Linked DNA regions of Homo sapiens: region 1 is linked to region 2. The links are contacts of gene promoters, found by promoter capture Hi-C in human tissues and cell types (Jung and others, 2019). All regions are on one chromosome and are shown on one strand. The core of a region is centred on a gene start or on the middle of the fragment in contact, and the rest is flanking DNA. Distances in the headings are between cores, read along the strand shown.

Region 1 (5,422 bases), core at 2,118-4,617, 50 kb before region 2:
GAAAATGACCCTTAGACAACATTTCAAAAAGTCAATAACATATTGTTTATAAGAGATACCAAAAAATGGGACATTGGAAGTAAAAATGGAGAACACTTTTCTATCAAATAAGAACCTAAAGAATGTTGAGAGTTGTTTGTTTGTTTTGTAGTTTTCAGCATGCAAATTCTGAACATGTTTCAGTAAAAATGTACATCTAGTATTTCATTTTTGGTGCTATTTTAAATGGTACTTTCTTTTTAAAAAATTGATTTGTGAAAGGAAAATAAAAAACTTGGGACCTCAATTCACCCATCCAAAAGAAAAAAAATTAAGCTGGAAGCTGAGTCATAGAAGAAGCTGCCTCTCCTTTTGTTCCTAAGCAGAAAGCTACAGATAAAAGGTTGAGTATCTTCACAGGTAGCTGCTCCATGTTCACCTGACCTTATGAAAAGCGTGGATTACTGAGCACAAGACAAATATATGATTGACTGTTTCCCTACATGTTCCTTTTCTCTTGCCACCTGTGGATGACCACACCCTCCTTCTTTTCCCCACCAGCCCACTTCTCCCTTTTAAATATTGAGGCCCTCAAAGTCATCTTTGGAGAAAGACACAGACCACAGACTGTTTCTGTGATTCTGGTTTTCTTTTCCTTAACATTGGCAAAATAAACTTCTCAATTGATTAAGACCTGTCTCAGATACTTTTTGACTTACAAATTGTGACCAACAGAAGGAACTCTGAGTGGAGGTGGTCCTTTGACAAATCTCCTGAGGACTAAACTCTGATTTTTTTTTTTTTTTTTGAGACCGAGTCTTGTTCTGTCACCCAGGTTGGAGTGCGGTGGCACGATCTCAGCTCACTGCAACCTCTGCCTCCCAGGTTCAAGCTATTCTCCTTAAACTGATTTTTTATCATGCCCAAATTCCTATCTAAGGGACCTGGGGAGTCATGCCATACAAATCATAAATTGTCATTAGCTGGGTTTTATTTCACCCTATATATTGTGACTTACTTTCCAACCTGTCTCTGGCATAACATTGTAAGACAAGGACGAAAATCAAAATGTTTGACCCCCAAAACATGTTTCTTTGCCATATCTTGAAATGGCCCTGTAAAGTTGTCCTTTGTGGGGGAAAATTTGCATCTCTAAATAATCTGAATTAATATAGCTAGATCTTTTTCTTCCAGGCCCTCCCAATCCTAAAGAGATTAACTAAAAGTCTAGCACCTTTTAAAGATCTGAATAGGAAACATTTGCCATCTATTGTCTCTAAGGGCAGCCACTATAAGACTCTAAAACAACCTTGGTCTCCACAATCTTTTATCTTAACCTGAATATTTCCTTTCTATAATCCCAGGTCTTTAGACAAACTCAACCAATTGTCAACCAGAAGATGTTTAAATTTACCTATAACCTGAAAGCACCTGCTTTGTCCACCTTTCTGGTCCAAAACAATGTATTTCTTAAATGTATTTGATTGATGTCTCATGCCTCCTTAAAATGCATAAAACCAAGCTTGTATAAAATGTATAAAACCAACCGCCTTGGGCACATGTTCTCAGGCCCTCCTGAGGGCTGTGTCATGGGCCATGGTCCCTAGTATTTGGCTCAGAATAAATCCCTTCAAATATTTTACCAAGTTTGATTCTTTTTGCAGACACTCCTATCGATGCTCAGTATCAGTTTGGGCTATCTTTATTGCTCAAATTAATAGGACAATTTGCTGAAGTCCGATTTGCTGAAGTCCAGGAGTATCCCCTTCTACCCCAGAGAATCCCTGATCTCCCAACATTCGGTTGAGATCTGAGGTTTCTTTTGCTGAGCAACTCCTTTTCTGGAGTTTCAGCTCGATTCCAACAGGGAAGGCGAGTTTGGGACTTTTCCTGTTTCTGAGACAGTAGAGAGCAGTCTTCAGCCTGGGCCCCATTTCTAGGTAAGTAGCTGAATTGGAGTTTTGTCTTGAAAATTCTCCCTCATGACTAAAAGTTAAGATTGACCACCGCCTGGTCTTCATTTCTGCTTCCATTAGAGAGCTCAGTAATCATATTGCCAGAAATTATAAGTTCCTCTTCAAAGCTTCTTTGGTCTTTCTTGCTCTGTACACAGCCCTTCCTGCTTAATCTGTAATGAGCACTTGTTTTTCTGCTTAATCTGTAACCTGCAAACCTCTTACTCTGTAAACAACTCTTCCCACCTAGTTGGTAAGGAACAGCCTCTCCCTTCCCGCATAATTGGCCTTATTCAATTTCAAACACTAGCCAATCGGGTCAGTTTAGACTGTGCAGTCCAACTCCAGCCAATGGGGAAAGGACACAGAAACAGGAACTGCATCAGCCAATGGGGAAAGGACACAGAAACAGGAACTGCATTAGGGGTAAAAACCCCTGCCCTCCCAGCTTGGTGTGCTCTTGCGATTGTGACTGATGCAGGCAGCACCCTTCTGCAGAAGTAAATGTGCCTTGCTGAGAAATTTTCTGCCTGGTTTTCTTTGCAGCACCAAGCATTTTTTTCTAACAATATAGTTTGGTTTCATTGTCGTTTTGGTCTTTCTCCCATTGGATTTGACCATCTCTACCTGACTTGGCCAAATCTGAATGAGAATTCCACACTATGGGTAACAAGCCCTCTGGATTGGCTAAAATTCCTTGAAGCTGCAAAAGAGAAAAAAAAAACATTCACTTGATTTCTCTGTGTGCTTCCTTTCTTAAAAAATTATTCTTTTATTTTTCTTCCACCCTATTTCTCCCAAAAAGGGGAAGCCCTTTTGCCATCTTTGGTACCAAGTGAAAAAAATGTCTACAGAAGGGTTCTAATTGAAGCGGCGTTGTTGTCTGGGGTAAATACCTGAGGTTTGTCATCTCACACCAGGGAAGTTGAGGATGCAGACACACAAGAAGTGAGTTTAAGATCAGAGGCTTAATAGGCAAAGGAAAGAGAAAAGAGGATAGCTCTCTCACCTGCGGAGAGAGAGGGGCGTCTGAGTGGGTCTTCCAGGTCCTTGGTGAAATGCACGAGGTTTTATAGACGAGCTTGAGGAGGCAATATCTGATTTACATAGGACATGAGAGATTGGTCAGACTAGGCATGCCATTTGCATAGTGCACAAAGAAGCTGGCCGACCCACCCTAATCTTTTATTATCCAGATGGGGTCTCTACCTGGCCAGTGTCATATTGCCTGCCTTTTACCACACAGGTGGCGACCAAGAAAAGGGAAGGGGGATCCTTCATGTTGAACAGACTTGGCTTCCAGGTATCCCTCTTCTATCACCACAGCTGCTAGCATTTACCTATGTAAGCTTTTAGCTTGTTTATCTATACTTGCAGCTTGATTTTTCAGGCTGCTTTTTGTTAGGAAAGAAATGATTGGGGGCTGCTTTTTATTAAAAGGAAACCTTGCTGAGGACTCTCTTACCCTCCTTATCTGCCTGAATTTCTTTCTCACTCCTGTATCATAATGACTTGGATCCTTAAATAACTCAGAATAAAGGCACCACTCACCCTGTGCGGGGGTGTTCTGCTTTCTGTGTGGAGTTTTCAGAGTCATGGCAGGTTTTTCTTAGGTCTAAAGTTCTGCTTTCCTGTATTGCATTACTTGACTTCTTTGACTTTTAGAGATACCAGAGATTACTCTGTACTGTGAGAATATTTGACCTTGGTGTGTGTCATGGCAGATGAGAGCTACAACGTTAGGGAAGGCTGAGGACAGTTTACAGGAAATGGTCATTACTACAGGGGGCCACTCATTGCACATTTAGATCAGAAAATTGTGCATGCTTTCTTGGCTCTGTTCCTTAGAGGGCTCCACCCTAAAGCCAGTGACCTAATCAAGCTCCGCTGAAAATACTACCTATCAAACTAAGTCACTTCAATAAAATTCTGTGTAAAGGAAATTTATGTCTTTAAAGGAAATTTCCATTTTGTAAGGACATCTCTGTCTCTGCGTCTAAACCACTAGGAACTTTAACTAAGGGGGAGACAATGGCTTCATTTACATAACAGACCTTGCCTTTTTTAGATCCAAGTCTGTGCCTTTGAGATGTACATTTTTTACCTTGCTTCACCTAAGTCATGTATTTGGAGATGTAAATTTAGAGTTACCTAGTTAACAATTGTTTAAGACATGGAATAGATAATCAAGAGATTAGTGGTATAAAGTAGGGAAGAAAAAAACTTTGAAAACAGGCAAGTGAAACATTTTAAATCCCTAAGATTTGCCTCTGTCTGTGTCTGTTAAGTCTGTGTGTTTATGTGTCACATGGAAACAATATTTCACTACCAATCATATGAAAGAGCTCTAATTAGTTGGCTTAAAGAAAAGTAAGTGTTTGTAGACTAATAGAAGCTAGCCCAGAGGCCTTTCAGCTCACATGACTTTAGTAATCTTTGGTAAGATTAATTTGGTAAATGTAATCTCACAATTCTCTCCAGTAATTGAAAATCTTAAAGTCATGTTGTGTTAAATTAAGTCATCCTAGGTTTTTTGCTGGAAATTAGGGTTTCTAAGAGAATAGTAGGAAAGTAAGATGCATTTTTGGTGAAGTTTATTTAAAAAACATGAGGATGTGGTTTTTGCTCAATGAAACATATTTTTTTTCTAGTTTAAAGGACCTTTCTGCTGGTGTCGAAGATAAAAACCGCTATTCACATCCAACCGTTCTTTTGTAAACTGGTGAGTTTGCATTGGTACCTCCTGGCTGGAATTCCAAGGCAAAAGCTATGGGACCTTTATTTGTGTGTGTGTGTGCGCGCACGCGTGCACATGTGTGATTGTGCGAGTGTGTGTGTGAGTGTGCATGTGTGTGGTGTGTGTGCGAGTGTGTGTGTGCATGTATGTGAATGTGTTCATGTGCATGTGCAAGTGTGTGGTGTGTGTGTGCGCAAATGTATGCATGTGCGTGTGCGAGTGTGTGGTGTGTGCGAGTGTGTGTGCACGTGTGTGTCATGTGAGTTTTGTGTGTGCGAGTGTGTGCATGTGTGGTGTGTGCATGTGCGAGTGTGTGTGCAAATGTGTCAGTGTGTGCATGTGTGTGTGCGTGTGGTGTGTGTGCATGTGTGTGAGTGTGTACGCGCGTGCATGCTTAGGTGTGTTTATGTGTGCATGCGTGTGTTTTGTTATGTGTTGTGACCACAAGGTACCAAATTGGCTTAAAAAAAAAGGAGTGCCAATAAATTAAGTAAATAAGTGCAAATACTTTTCAAGTTCATATGACTTCAGTAAATCTTTAATAAATAACCTAACTTTAAAATAATTGGTAAAATAAAATTAGAAATGTCTTCAGAATTGTCAACATACATTATTATTTAGATTTATTGGTCTAATGTTAATTTAATAAAAACAGTAAATCCTGTGTTATTGGCCAAAAAATTCATTTATTTAACCTTAAGATTCTTACTTAGGTAAACACCTGAAATTCACTGGCTATAAAAATGGTCAA
Region 2 (5,497 bases), core at 2,467-4,966:
GGGGCCGAGGGGAGTTCGGTCATCAGAGGCGCCCTGCAGGGCCACCCACAGAGGGACCAGAGCTCAGCTGTGGGTGGCATTAGGGACAAAGGCCCCGGGTGGCAGAGGGAACAGCTGGGAGGCCTCGGGCCCCTGGCTCACCCCAATTACAGTTCCTGCCATGGCCAGGCAGCATAGGCGGAAGGGCAGATGGGGCGCCCCGGGGAAAACAGATCTCCGGCCACATCCAAAACACACCAGCCACAGGCGGGTGAGAGAAGCAGGGCCACAAAGCTGGACGGAGCAACCAGGATGGGGCCGAGTCCCTCTACCTCCCCACTTCCCACAGACCCAGGACAGAACCAAGTCCCTCTACGTCCCCATGCTTCCCAGCAGACCCAGGGAGTGACCAGGATGGGGCAAGTCCCTCTACGTCCCCATACTTCCTGCAGACCCAGGGAGTGACCAGGATGGGGCCAAGTCCCTCTACGTCCCCATGCTTCCCAGCAGACCCAGGGACCCAGGGAGGAGAAGATCAGGCCCTCCCTTCCCTGGAGCACATGGAAGTCCCAGGAGGAGACAGGATAGAAGGAACAGCTCCCATGGTGGCCTTTGCCCAGGACTCTCCCTTCCTCGAGCCACACTTCCTCCCTCCCGAGAGCACACGTCCTCCTTTTCACAAAAGCAGGCACAGCCCGGGGGCCTTGAATCAAGCTCATCCCTCAACACGTGGGTTTCTCACCAACACAAGGGCCTGGGAAAACTTCGAACCCCGTTTGCAAACAGCCCCCATTGTTCTTAGGGCTAAAGCACAGCCTGGCGCCGCTCCCCAGGCCAAAGGCACCCCACATGCACACCCAGGACTCACCTGAGAAAGGGGGCAGCCCACCCCGCACCTGGCACAGCCCCAACAGTGCCTCACACTTGTCCGTGCCCAGGGACGTGCAGCTCGCGGGGTCCCACTGCCTGGAGGACGCAAGGATGTGCGGCACGGGCTCTGGGCTGGCCGACGCTGGATCCAGGGACCAAGGACTTTCCAGAAACGCCTTCACATCTGGGGTTCTAGAAGGAGCAACATGACAAGGATCCTGGGTCTATTCCCCAGCCCCCTGGAAGGCTGCCCCCACCCACCCCAAGAGCAGAGGGCTGGACCCATCCCCAGGACACCCCAGGCACCACCCAGCATCAAGCCAGCCTCTGCCCAGGGGCCCTGGGCCAGCCAAGCTCCACAGCTGTCTACCCAGTTTCCCTCTGCCCAACTCCTCCGGTTCTAGATTCTTCCACAGCTAATTAGCCACCAGTCCCATGCCCCAGCCTGCTTTGGGGTAAAATGGGTACATTTAAACACAAGATGCAGACAGTCCTTCAACCTGGGGAGCTGCCATTCTGAAAAGAACCAAATTATCTTGACTTCAGAAAACTGCATTCCTGAAGCTGCCCATGGGGAGGAGTATGACACCTCACTGACCACCTGTAAATTCCCCACACACAGGAGCAGAAGAGATCCTCCCGGGCACCTCCCACCTCCACACCAGCCCAGGCCCTCAATTCTGCTGACCGCGCTCCCCCCTTGCTGGAGCTCGCCCATGTTGGTCACCTCACACCTGGCCACCTGAGTTGGCAGGGCCCTGGGCAGGTCACCACCTGCGGAGGCCAAGCCGGGCCTCCAGGCCACACCCTCCCGAGGACATGCCAGGGGGCTTTGGGTCTGCTGCTCCCAGGGTCACCCAGCCCTGGAGAGCGGGCCCCAGGAGACACTAACCGAGTCCCGCTGGACGCTCCCGTCCCAGGGTCTGGCACACCTGCTTGAATCTGACTCGACAACGTCAACTGTAAAACATCCTCCTGCAACGAGTGCCACATTTCCTTGGAGGAAGCAAGAATCTGAAATTTAAGTAAACATGTAAAACAAAGACAGAGACAGTCAGCTGAGAAACCCAAGACACGGTGACAAGACTGCTACCCCAGGGCCTGGAGGGTCACTGTGAGCTCGGTCCCCGCTTGGAACTTGGGGGCGAGAGTACAGGTTGACAACGAGGCTGAGGTTCCACCCCCGAAAGGCCCCACCATTCCTGAATCAGGCTGTGCATACCCAAGGGCCTCACTGCAAATGCTGGGACCCCTGACCTCACAGATGACAACACAGTTTCATTCCCCACACAGGTCCTCAGCCCCAGCACTCACGGGGTCAGCCAGAGCCCCCAGAGCCTTGGAGAGGGGAGAGGAGCCTCTCTCTTGGAGACGTGCAGAGAAATGATCTAGGGGGTGCTCAGCCAGGGAGGATCAGGAGACCCCAACTCTCCCCCAAATTGGCACGGAGCATCTCGGCAACCCATCAATGAACAGGACTCAGGGGCACAGGAGGGCTGGAAAGGAAGGCTTGCTCCTTTCCAGGAACAGAATAACAACAGGTAAGGCTTGAACAAATCAGGAAGTGCCCTGCCGAAAACGTGGCCTGCTCTAGCCGTGGAGACCCAGAGGGCTGAAGGAGACGGGGATGACAGGGGACACACTGCCTGCAAGGTGGTGAGATGTCCCATCACCGTGATGCCGGAGGACTGACGGCGTCTACCCTTACAACTCACAGCGTGCTGCTCCTGACTGGGCCCCAGGGCGCTGGCAAGCCGCAGGAACTGCACAGACATCTCCAGGACCGAGGCCATGTCCTCCCGCCGGCCATCGAACTGGGGCAGCAGGGCCCGCAGACGCTCACAGCTCAACGACATCCGCTTCCTGGTTCCGGTCAAGAAACAAATACCTCTGGGCCCTCCTGCCCTCCCCGAGAAGGGACAGCAACTGCTAGAACCTGCCAGATAGACCCTGGGCGCTTGTCAGGCAGAGGGGGCTACAAGATGACTCAGAGCTGCCCCCGTGGTCTGAAGCCCCGAGATCCACATCAGAGCACAGCCTGGGCCTGACCCCTGGACCTCGGCGACAGGCTGTCCAGCCCAGGCCCAAACCATGGCTGCTTTGCGGTGTGGAAAAGACAGCGAGGGTCAGAGGCAGTCAGAAGCACAGAGGGTCACAGGTGCACAGCCTCAAGAGGCCAAGGCTTCAGGATAAAGAGGGGCTGCAGGATGTTCCCCAACAGGGCTTTTCTGGTTTACTTGGAGATGTGCAGTCTGTCCTTCTCCTGGGCACAGGCCACGAGCCCCTCCCAGCTGCCTGACACCTGGTGGCAGCCCCGAACATAATCTCACCCGCTCCACCCCTTTACAGCGCCCTCACCCCTGGGAGGCACCACCACTCACCTGCGCTCCCTCTCGCTGATCACGTTCCGCCGAAGGCAGGAGCTGGGACCCTCGGCCACCGTAGGGGCCTTGGGCGGGCCCGAGCCCCGGGCCGAGTCCTCGCAGCAGGAGAGGGCACCAGACAGGGAGCCGCTGCCGAGAAAGCCAAGAGCACCGGGCCCTGAGAACCCCAGAAAAGGCCACCAGGAGTCCCAGATGCCAGAATGGGCGTCTTTGGGGTGCGGGTGGAAGCCAAGACTGGGTCACGTAGGGACACGGCCCGGCCCTCTCTGCACCCCTTCCCCTCTCCCAGGGTCCAGGGCTCCGCCCCAGGAGGCCCAGGATGGGTGGAGCCCAGCAACTTGCGGAAGAACCCCTGGGTACAGGCCTTGGGCCCCCAACCCCTTGGCCGCCAGCCCAATTCCTCACTTGCATCCCCTGACGGTAGGGATTCTGGAGACCTCCGGGTAGGGCTCGGAGCACCGGGACGCCATGAACTCGCAGCTGCGGAGCGACCCCACGCGCACGGCCCCTTCCGCAGGCAGCCCCGCCCCCTCACGTGTGCTCTGCCCACCTGCCACGTGCTTTCCACCTAGCCCACCCCACCCCCACTTGCAATCCGCCCCCATAGCGCATGCGCTCTAGCCCTCCCCACGCAGCCAGCCCGGGGCCCACGTGACCCGCGTTCCTGCAAAGAAGGTGCTGGAAAGGGACTCGGGGGGTCCACCCACTCTATGCCCCCGCAGGACGCCAGGGGAAGGGGCCCCAGCCCAGGTGGCCCTGCCTCTACCCTTACCTTCCCGGGGGTCGCCTCGGTTCCCACTTATGCGGTGGTCTCGGTGCCCTTGGGCACTTTGGAGATGCGGGCTCTGCCCTTAGGAGCCCAGCCCCTGGTGGGAGTGGGCGGGCTGGGCTGAGTTGTTTAGCCCAGGCCTGGGGGACCCAGGGACACAGGGAGGGGGAAGGGTACCCGCCTGCTCCCCAGTCGCCCACGCCTCCATTTTCCCCCAAATCTAGTACGCTTGCAGACGCTGCGCCTCAGGGTAGGGTCACCATCCACACTTCTGGGTCGCCCAGAACCAGGGGCATCTTGTCCCCACCCCAGGCCACCATCGTCCGTGCTCTTCCTCCCGCTGAGCTCTGCCGGGCACCCTCGGAACCGTCTGTCCCTTCACCTGGCCCTGCCCAAGCACCATCCCCGCTTTATGCCCTGGGGCCCCAGCTCGACCCCTCACCTCACACTCTCAACAGGTTTCTGCGGGATCGCGGGGGTCCTGCCCATCCAAATTCAGAAAGCTCCGGCGCCAGGTGTTTGCTCACCTCCCCGCTGAACTCCAGGAGCCGCCCTGCGCTGGGCTTGAGTCCCCCAGTACATACTTTTGGGGGGATGACGGAGGGAAGGGGGAGGTGGAGACCCTTCCTCTTTCACGGAGGTTGCGGGGGGCCCTCAGGGAAGCAGAGGGGACGAGGGTGGGGGGTGAGGCTGGACTGTTGGGAGGACATCCCTGGCCTGGCTCGTGCTGAGGTCGTAGCGGGAGGAGGTGGGGTGGGTGGCAGGGGCTCTCCTCCCGAGAGGGGAGGCAAGAAGGAGCCCGGGCAGGTGCCACCACACGGGGACGTCTGTCCGGGGTGCCCCAGTCTCCTGTGGAGAAGGCGCGGCTCTGGGCCTCGGGCTGGCATCCTGGACTTTGGGCCAAAGATGGGTGAAGGGTGTTTGGAGCAGAGGGAGGTTATGTAATATAAGGTGGTGTCTCCATCCCTGCTCCGCCCAGCCTTGGCTGCAGGTCAGACATGGAGGAGGACGGGGTTGGAGAGGAGGGCAAAAGCTCTCGGGGACCTGGGCCCCTCTCCCGGCCCTGCCCCTGGCCAGGGAGGGATGGACGGGCTGGCGATCTGGGGCTCCTCAGTGGCAGAGTGGGGCCAAGTTTTTGTTTCCCTAAAGCCCTCGGAATGTCATCAAACCTGTGACTCTCCTGCCGTTGACAACACGTGTAATTACTGCTAATTAATCACAGATGCAGATGGTGCGGCCTCTCAGTTTTTTCTGAGTTCCCCAGGCAGGAGGGCGTTGGCAGAAAGGCCACCATCTTGCCCCGGCGGCACCCGCCCAGGGGTGGTGGGACCCCGGCAGCAGCACCGGCCAATCTAGGGACCTGAGGAAAAACCCCCAAGATGCCCACGAGCTGTGTGGCGGGGGCACAGGCTGAACCTCTGCTGGGGACTTAGCATCCTAGACTTCCCCGAGTGTTCCCCACCCACCCCTCAAAAGCATCTGTGTTCAGCCTGCT

The links. Contacts are between HindIII fragments. The study calls those that stand out against the background at their distance.
Region 1: a fragment that was not itself captured here is called in contact with the fragment with the promoter of SOHLH1 in region 2 in 4 of the 25 tissues and cell types used here (H1 embryonic stem cells, IMR-90 fibroblasts, dorsolateral prefrontal cortex and 1 more).

Annotation. Positions count from the first base shown.
Region 1 is chr9:135,645,719-135,651,140 of GRCh38, forward strand. No RefSeq gene overlaps it. Among named protein-coding and RNA genes, the nearest start is that of GLT6D1, 8.9 kb to the left of the region's middle. The HindIII fragment of the contact is 6,544 bases long and covers 96-5,422 here.
Region 2 is chr9:135,695,765-135,701,261 of GRCh38, forward strand. SOHLH1 (spermatogenesis and oogenesis specific basic helix-loop-helix 1) reads right to left here and starts at 3,717. Exons shown (of 8, transcript NM_001101677.2): 1 at 3,639-3,717; 2 at 3,231-3,362; 3 at 2,565-2,712; 4 at 1,742-1,863; 5 at 848-1,041. The coding sequence starts at 3,703. The HindIII fragment of the contact is 18,112 bases long and covers 1-5,497 here.